Regions from separate parts of the Homo sapiens genome. Here region 1 is linked to region 2. Evidence: promoter capture Hi-C in 16 types of primary human blood cells and fetal thymus (Javierre and others, 2016). All regions are on one chromosome and are shown on one strand. The core of a region is centred on a gene start or on the middle of the fragment in contact, and the rest is flanking DNA. Distances in the headings are between cores, read along the strand shown. Region 1 has its middle 7.4 kb from the start of TOPBP1. Region 2 holds the start of ACAD11 (acyl-CoA dehydrogenase family member 11).

Region 1 (4,514 bases), core at 974-3,473, 1.0 Mb before region 2:
GCCTGCCTTGGCCTCCCAAAGTGCTGAGATTACAGCTGTGAGCCACCATGCCTGGCCTCTCTTGCCTTTTTTTTTCTTTTAAGGCAGTTAAGGTCACTGATTTTTCAGCCTCTCTTCTCTATTACATGTGATAAAGGCTATAAATTTGCCTATAAGTATTCCTTTTCTTGATATATTATAACTTCATGGTTATTCAGTTCAAAATATATTCTAATTTTATTGTGATTTCTTATTCAACTCATGGTTTATTGAGAAATGTATTGCTTGATTATCCAGGTGGGCCAATATCCTCACAAGGGTTCTTTAAATGTAGAAGCAGAGCCTCCAGAAAGGAACTCAGCCCTGCTGACATCTTGATTTAAGCCCAGTGAGATCCACTTCAGACTTCTGACCTCCAAAACTGTAAGATATTAAGTTTTGTTACAGTAGTAACAGGAACCTCATATACTTGATATATTTATTGGAGCCTCTTCAAGGTGTGGCATTATCTTTTTATCTCCCATTCCATGGAACTTCAAATTGTGCCAAGTATCTTAAGGAGAAAACTGGCCCTTTGTCAAGCTTAGTTCTCTGCTCCTCCCTTCTCAATGGGATCTTGCCTCCACTTCTGTTTTTCCAGCCCTGAGACTGCCATCAGTTCGGCTGGCTTCTCTGTAAGCCAGCAGTGACCCTCTGCTCAGGTAAAGCCAGATTCCCCCTGGCCATGTGCCGAGTGGTTCATCTTTAACTGTCCTGGCTCTCCCTTCACTTACTCATACATTTGAAAGGAAATAGGATCTATGAGCGCAGAGATCACTTTTTTCTTGTCCAACATTCTAACACAAGGTTGGAAAATACTGTCTGCTATAGTATTGGGCTCAAAAAATCAAACAGATCAATAAATGCACACAAATGTCTCAAAAGTGGGTTGAGCAATCTCCTATGCAGGCCTATGGACAAAAACCAAATAAAGTCCAGAGGTGATCATTCCTTCTAAGGTTAATTATTCACCTAAAACTAACACAGCCTAAATCCAATAGCAGCCACTGTGCCCCCGACCCTAGATTAGATCAAACTCTGAAAACTTCGTGTGTACTGGGACAAAGTGATATTGCAAAGATAGGACATCCAAAGTGCTAAAGTCATTTCTGTGCTTTGGTACAGGCTCTCATAAATAGCAAAGCAGAAGGTTAGATGCTTGTATGGTGGAAAACAGTTTTAAAACTTCACGGCAAAGATGGTCTTTGGAAAACTTGGGATTTATAGATTTATTAGTGTGTACCAGGCATTGTACTAAGTGCTTCCCAAATGTTAAATGATAGTAACCCCATAAGGCTATTGCCATCCTCTTTTTGTACAGAGAGACAGTGAAGCACAGAAAGGTTAACCAGTGACTTGCCCAAGGTCAGGTAGCTAGTAGGTGTCCAAGCTGGCATTCAAACTAGGCAGCCTGCTTCCATAGTCCATGCTGTTTCTCATGTGGCCTCTGACATTTGTCTCTGGAGCAATTTCACACTTTCCCCTTTCCAAGGCATCTTGAAGTAATAACGGCATGGGGCACCATGTTTGTTTAAACTGTTTCCAAGTTCAGAATTGGTTGGATTTAACTGTCCTGGCTCTCCCTTCACTTATTCATACATTTGAAAGGAAATAGGGTCTATGAGGGCAGAGATCAAATTTTCTTGCCCAACATTCTAATATAAGGTTGGAAAATAGTGTCTCACAAATAGCACTAACTGCTATAATAGCAAAGCTCCAAAATCTTAATGGTTTAACACAATAGGAGTTGACCTCTTAGTAACATAAAGCCCATCTGGCAGCAATCGTGGTGATTTGTTAGGGTGGGAGTGGGGAGTTCACTTTCATAGCTCCATTCAGTCATTCAGAGATCCAGGCTGAGAGAGGTTCTGCCATTTTCAACACATGGCTTCCAAGATTGCTCTGTGTGTTGATATTCAAATGACAGAATAAGGAAGAGCGTGGAAGGTAGTGCAAGAAATTTCCTTGGATCAAGCTCGGATGTGACAAACATCACTTCTACCTATATTCTATTGGCCATAACTCAGTCCCATGACCCCACCAATTGTAAAGAGGATGGGAACCATAGTCTCTGGCTAGGAAACTACTTCTCAGCAACAGCAAAACACTATGAAAGGGGAGCACATGTCTGGGGTCTTTTGTCTTAGTTTGAGCAGACCCAGAAAACAGACTTTTAGACAAGCCTTCTCAGATGTTTTATTTGACAAGTAAAGAAACACAGGCAAGACAGTAGAGATGTGGCTGGGCACGGTGGCTTATGCTTGCAATCCCAGCACTTTGGGAGGCCTAGGTGGGTGGATCGCCTGAGGTCAGGAGTTTGAGACCAGCCTGGCCAATATAGTGAAACCCCGTCTCTACTAAAAATACAAAAAATTAGCCAGGTGTGGTCGCAGGCACCTGTAATCCCAGCTACTCGGGAGGTCAAGGCAAGAAAATCGCTTGAACCCGGGAGGCGGAGGTTGCAGTGAACTGAGATCGCGCCATTGCACTCCACCCTGGACAACAGAGCAAAACTCCGTCTCAGAAAAAAAAAGAAAAAAGAAAATAGAGATGTGAGACAGGGAGAAAGGCATCCAAAGAATGTGTTAACAAGTCAGATGCCACTGTGGACACTGGGACTTAATTCCCCTGAGGAAACTATGAGAGTCAGAGTGGATGTCCCATCCACGGGACATGCAAACAAGGGTTTTTGTGCACCAACTCCTGTCAGCCATCATTTAAGGGGTTTTTTTCCCTATAGGTCATAAATCCTCTAGCCCTCTGGCCTACTGTGCAGGTGGCAGAGCAGATTCCTGGTGCCAGAGAATGCCTTCATGCAATGAACACAGATGCTGGCAGCTGGAAGTTTCCTAATGTGCATGAGTGCTAAGGGTGAGGGGGTATGGGTGGGACACTAAGGGTTTCTACATGGTCTCTGCCAGAATCCAGACATGTTTTTTTCCCTCCCTGCCCAAGCACACATCTGCTACACACTGGGGAATGGGGAGGCACAAACAGAATAACAACAATAAAACTCCCTTTCAGAAAAGGGAGGAGTGGAGACCCATAGCCATCATTGGTCAGTATCAATTTTGAAGTTGGGCAGGCACTAGGAGGCTCTCGATTGGGGGTTCTGATTAGATCAGATTCTGTTCTGTGACAGGAGCTCCTTTGCTCGTTGCTCTCCAGGATCCCTGGTACCTCCTTCTGGGAGGATCTTCATTTTCTATTACCCTCTCTATCCATATCTGAATACTGAGGAGTTTGTGCTCCTTGGGGCTGTATGACTTTCCACCTACTTGTGCTGCGAAAATTTGAGGATTAAATCAAAGTCTGAATACTCCAGGTTTCTGGTTGGGTTCAGAAAGCAATTATCTCAAAATGTTCGTAACCTTCAGATCTATTTGGTTCCAGTCAGTTTCACGTGGTAATTGTCAACCTCACACATACAAAACAAGGTCAAGGGTAGGGCCTGATTCCACCAGTGAACATACTTGAGACATTTTTAGATTTAGATGGTTTATTACTTCCATAGATAGCAACAGAGAAGAATAAGTGAAAGATGTCTTCTCCCTGGGTCTGATGATTGCAATGCGAGTTGTAGGATACTCTATTACTAAGGAGTCAAATCTAGATGGCAGCTAGTGCTTTTATATTCTGCAGGCCTATCATGAGGGGAGTGGGGCAGAAAGCCCCATATCTCATCAAAACCTGGGAGGTGATGAGAAACTATGTCATGACAGCCTCTTAGGAGAGATAGAAAGGTGAGTGAGAGATGCCTTTCTAGTAGCTCCTTAGACACCTCCCTTAAGGATGACAAGGTGTTGTGCCAGGGCTCAGATAAGTTGCAATTCAAGCCTTTGCCTCTATTGATATGTGTAAGCTTATCAATAGAGGAAGTCATGGCAGAGCTGTTCTTCTACAGAAGTAGTCCCCTCCCTAGTTCTTTCCTAGACATAATTTTCAAACCTGATTGCTATCTTTGGCCCCATACCTCTCTCTCTCTCTCTCAGTTGATGGTGCCTACCTAGCTTGGGTGACAGGACCATATTCTTTAACTAGATCTTTTCCACATGGTCGGGTTGTAATGGACATTTGTTGCTCAAAACCTTTCTCAGGTTTATCTCTTGTTTTTAGGACACAGATGAAGTCAGCTTTTCCAACCTTGCAAAATCTCACATACTTGGGTTTTTTTTTTTTTTTTTGAGTCAGAGTCTTGCTCTGTCACTCAGGCTAGAGTGCAATAGTGAGATCATAGCTCACTGTAACCTCAAACTCCTGGGCTCAAGCAATCCTCCCACCTCAGCCTCCCAGTACCTGGGACTACAGGTGTGTGTCCTCCACACTCAGTTAATTTTAAAAAAAAACAACAAAACTTTTTTTTAGAGACAAGATCTGGCTGTGTCGCCCAAGCTGGTCTTGAATTCTTGGCCTCAAGCAATTCTCCTGCCTCAGCCTTCCAAAGTGCTAGGATTACAGGTGTGAGCCACTGCATCCGGCCTGGATTTTTTTTTTTT
Region 2 (4,563 bases), core at 593-3,092:
CTACCAAGGCATGAACCTGAGGTGGCTCTCTAAGCCTCAATTTTCTCACTTATATAATGGGGGTAAAATAGTAGCAATCTCATAGGGTTTTGGTGGGAGGAGACAATGCATGTAAAGTGCTTACACAGTGAAAGCTCAATAACTGCTTGCTACTAAATGCACCTAGCAATAAAATCTTGTATAAGGCTTGCCATGTACAAGCGCTACTCTAAGACCTTTATACATACTGATTTTTTCAATCCCCACAACTATGACAGAGATAGATATTACTATTATCTTCATTGTACAGGTGAGAAGCTGAAGCGGAAAGTTTCACAACTTGCCAAAGGTTAGGCAGTTACGAAGAGAGTAGTTAGATTTGAATTGCAATCAGTCTGGCGGTAGAGTCCTTACCCTTAACCATTGCACTATATTCCATCTGCTGAATTGATAAGCTTTGTTAGGAAAGAAGAAAAGAGAGGCCTGGGCAGTCTTGGTAATGTCGAATGGTTTGAGATGTTAAGGAGCACCCGAATATCTCAGAATAGAGCTAACCCCGCTCTCCCCCGCCCCGACCCCATTTAAGATGCATTGATAAGCCTTTAATGAAACTCAAAGTTTACCTTAGCAGGTTTAATATTTGATCTCATCTTCTGAAAGTTCTTACTATCAGTCTTATACACAGCGAGGCGGACTAATTAAGAGGCAAGGGTGATAGGAAACTGGACACACGTCCTCAGCAGGCACAGGAGCAGCACCATATGGCTGACTCACTGGAGGTTTTTAAAAAAGAGAAAGAATATCTTCCGATCAGTACTAAGATGTGGCCTTGCCCATTTGGGAACAGGATTCGCAGACCAAGAAAAGGGTGGCGGGCGTCCCCATGAGCGGGACGTGGGAAGCGCCTCACTTCTGACCTCACGGAGCCTGACCTCGTCCCCCGCGCCTGCCTCCGACCGGCGACGCAGGTTACCTGTAGGGATTCGAATCCACCACCTCTGAGCTCATCTTCTCGATGCGGACCCGGCCGCCCCCTCCGTCGCCGCTCCTCGGGACCTGCAGACTCCTCTCCTGGGCAAGTTCCCGCTCCAGCTCCTGGACCCGCTGCTGCAGGCGCTCCACAGACTCCGCCATGGCTGGGACTCCGGCCGCCAACGCTCCCAGCCCGGGCCTTCGCCGCCGCCTTCGCCCCACGTTGCTCGGCTGGGCCCGCGAGGGGTACGTGGGGAGGCACCTCGCCGCTGCCTTCCTAGCCCAGAGCCCTGGGGACGTGCACCCAGCGCCTCACAGACAGACACGTCTCCGAGACTCCCACAGGCCTTCCTCGGAGCCGCTTCCGGTGCGTCGCAGACATCGCTCCCCCTCATCAAAAACCTGGCTCTTTCGGCTTCCTTCCTCGCTGGGCCGGCTAAACCCGGCCGCAGCAGCACCGGGGTGATAAGTGTCCAGGGCAGGAGGCCAGCGATGTTGCCTTGCTAACCGGGTATCTAAGAGAAACAGGGTCTTTTTATTCTTAGGCTCGACAGTCTGACGGCCCTTTTTCTGAACGGGACCCTGCAGGTCTTCCGCCTGCTGTTGCATTAAATTTGGGGGTGGAAGAGGCTTCTGCGTTGTTCCTTACCCGCAACGATGACCATGGCTTTGCCTTCTTTAAAATTGAGGCCTCCAACTCTGACGCTGACTGGAGAATTGAAACCCGAACACACATTGGGCTCTTTTGGCACTTGACTAGAGCTAAAACCTCGGGATTCAGCGGGCAAGCGTTGCTCAGCAACGGCGCGTAGGCTGTGTGCGGTTGGCTGGAGCCAGACCCCACCCCGGCCTCGGCCCATGCTCTAGAGGGGACGTTGCCCCAATCCTGAAGGACTTCGGCACTCGAGACCTGTGGATGCCGCGTTGCTGTGGCCTGCGGGGGTGATCATGAAGCCAGGTGCTACTGGCGAGTCCGATTTGGCCGAAGTGCTGCCCCAGCACAAGTTCGACAGCAAGTCCCTGGAGGCCTACCTAAACCAGCACTTGTCTGGCTTTGGGGCCGAACGTGAGGCTACGCTGACCATTGCCCAGTACAGGTATGGATGTCAGCCTTTGCCTCCAGCGGAAAAAAATTTGTACATTGAGTTTTCCTTCCTTTGGCCCTGGGTGGTTTCCTAAGTTTCTCCCACCCTGATTGCTTTTCCTGCAGTCAGTGGACGCACCCTACAGGCATGAGCTGCTATTGCCGGCCCTCCGAATTCGATGCTGGGGGCTTCCCAATTGGAGGGCGGTAATGGAAGCGCAATAACGTTCACCATTCTACTATCCAAAGGAATCTTTGTTAAAGGATGGATTTATGTCCCTTGAGGATTCACCAAGGCAATTAAGGCTACAAATTCTGAGAAATAGATGCCTTCTTTTGTGATACAGCCATTAGATCTTTTTCTGAGAAGCTGGTGTAATTCCGTTTGATTGGCCGTATTCCGGGAGGCTGAGTTAATGACACCAGATGGAGGATCCGAATTCGAGTACTAGCTTTTCCACTTAGGAGGTCACAGCACCACTTTGGGCCTCAGGTTTTTTGAAGTGAGGTAATGGAACTGAGTGAGAGGATCCTGAGAGTAGCGTTCCCCACCGGGAATCTGGCTTTAGTCTGATGTTTTACAATAGATAATACATTCTTAAAACTTTATTCTAAAAATAACATTGTTACTAATACAGGGCTACAGAAAGAGTCCTATCATTCAGAAAACTGGATCTGTCACTTGCTGTCTGGGAGTTTAAATATGTTACATAAACACTCTGAGAACTAGTTTCCTAAGTTGTAATACCTATTTTGATTAGTCTTATTAATGAAATGAAATACCGTAATATAGGTGAAAGGGCGTAAAAATTGCAACAACATAGTGTGCTAGTGGTATTTTATCACTAGCATTTATATTCTTTGACTACTGATTTTGGTGAAAATGAAAATAATAATAAATGAGATGGATCAGGGAACATTTTAGGGTGTAGAATTTAAAGGTCCCATGTCCCAATAGATATTGGAAGATGAAGGGAAAGGTGGAATAAAGAATAGCTGAGATTTCTAGGCTAGAAGCCTTGTGTTGTAACAAACTGAAACAGATCAAAGTTCAAATTTCAACTATTTCAATTGCTGTGGAATTTGGACAAGTTACCCTTTGAACATCTAGTCCTGCTTTGGCAAAAAGGAGATAGTAACGTTCATATTGTAGGAGTGTTGAAGAGGTACATAACTGAAAGATACTTAATTCTGAACCAAGCTGAATGTTAAACCATAACCGTGTTCAAAAAATGAAATTAGTTGTAAATTAGTTGTGGTATAAAAATTGCTTCCAGAAATGTTGTATAAGCTTGGTTTAATAAATATATATGGAACTCTGGATCCCACAGAGAACACACATTCATTTCTAGGACACATGAAAAAGTTTATAAAAATTGAAAACACATAGGCCATGAAGGAAGTCTCAGAAACTCAAAAGAATCAATCTTTATATTTTGAAAATGTGTGTTTTGGCCAGGTGCAGTGACTCACACTTGTAATCCCAGCACTTTGGGAGGCCGAGGCACGTGGATCACTTGAGGTCAGGAGTTCAAGACCAGCCTGGCCAACATGGTGAAACCCCCATCTCTACTAAAGATACAAAAATTAGCCGGGCGTGGTGGCACGTGCCTGTAGTCCCAGCTACTTGGGATGCTGAGGCAGGAGAATCGCTTGAACCAGGAGAGGGAGGTTGCAGTGAGCCAAGATTGCACCACCATGCTCCAGCCTAGGTGACAGAGTGAGACTCAAAAAAAAAAAAAAAAAAAAGGAATATGTGTTTTTTTAATACCAAAAGTTTAACAGAAGATAGCTAACAAATACATGTTTATAAATTAAGTGATTCATGGATTAAAGAGCCAATAATCTACATAGACAGTAAAAGACTATCAAAGTTCAGTGTACAGAAATCAACTGCATTTCTCTACTTTAGCAACAGTTAAAATGTAATTTTCAAAAACTTACAGGAGCATCAAAAATATAAATTACCTAAGTAAAAGATGTGCAATACCTTTGTAGAGAAATGATAAAACTTTTATTAGGACCTTAAAAAGAATTTTAAAAATTGAGAGATGCCATGTTGTTGAATAGGAATATTCAATATTGCAAACTTTTTTCTTCCAGTTGATCTATTGATTCAAAGCAATGACAATCAAAATCCTAATTTTTTTCTCTAATTTGAAAAAGTGCTCCTAAATTTTATGTGTAAGAGCGAAGGGCTAAGGATAGCAGAAACATTTTTAAAGAACCACAAGGTGGGAAATTTGAGTTAAGATGGTATGATATTAGCACAGAGATAGACAGACCAATAAAATAGAACAGAGAGTTCACAGAAAGACCCACATATTTATAGAAGTTTGATAAGTGACAATGTTGGCACTGAGAGTCAGTGGGGGGAAAAGAAGAACTTTTCAAGAAGTTATACTGGAATAATTGTTATCTGTATGAAGAAATAGAAATTAGACTCTTTATCTCACACAGTTCCAGGTAGATAAAAGAACTGAATGTTAAACTATAAATGTTTGGAAGATGTGTAAGTTATATTTTTG

Evidence for each region. The method cuts DNA at HindIII sites, captures the fragments that hold promoters and counts their contacts. A CHiCAGO score of 5 or more calls a contact.
Region 1: a fragment that was not itself captured here is called in contact with the fragment with the promoter of ACAD11 in region 2 in 4 of 17 cell types (non-activated CD4 T cells, fetal thymus, total CD4 T cells and 1 more); the score reaches 7.0 in non-activated CD4 T cells.

What each region holds. Positions count from the first base shown.
Region 1 is chr3:133,667,045-133,671,558 of GRCh38, reverse strand. It overlaps a transcript of TF not described here. Among named protein-coding and RNA genes, the nearest start is that of TOPBP1, 7.4 kb to the right of the region's middle. RefSeq lists a cis regulatory region at 977-990 and an enhancer at 912-1,056. The HindIII fragment of the contact is 3,319 bases long and covers 564-3,882 here.
Region 2 is chr3:132,657,088-132,661,650 of GRCh38, reverse strand. ACAD11 (acyl-CoA dehydrogenase family member 11) reads left to right here and starts at 1,842. Exons shown (of 20, transcript NM_032169.5): 1 at 1,842-2,048. The coding sequence starts at 1,900. It overlaps UBA5 (ubiquitin like modifier activating enzyme 5), which reads right to left and starts at 1,322. Exons shown (of 12, transcript NM_024818.6): 1 at 953-1,322. The coding sequence starts at 1,113. The region is part of intron 26 of NPHP3-ACAD11 (NPHP3-ACAD11 readthrough (NMD candidate)); the gene reads left to right. RefSeq lists enhancers at 727-1,006, 1,377-1,466, 1,002-1,540. The HindIII fragment of the contact is 2,892 bases long and covers 437-3,328 here.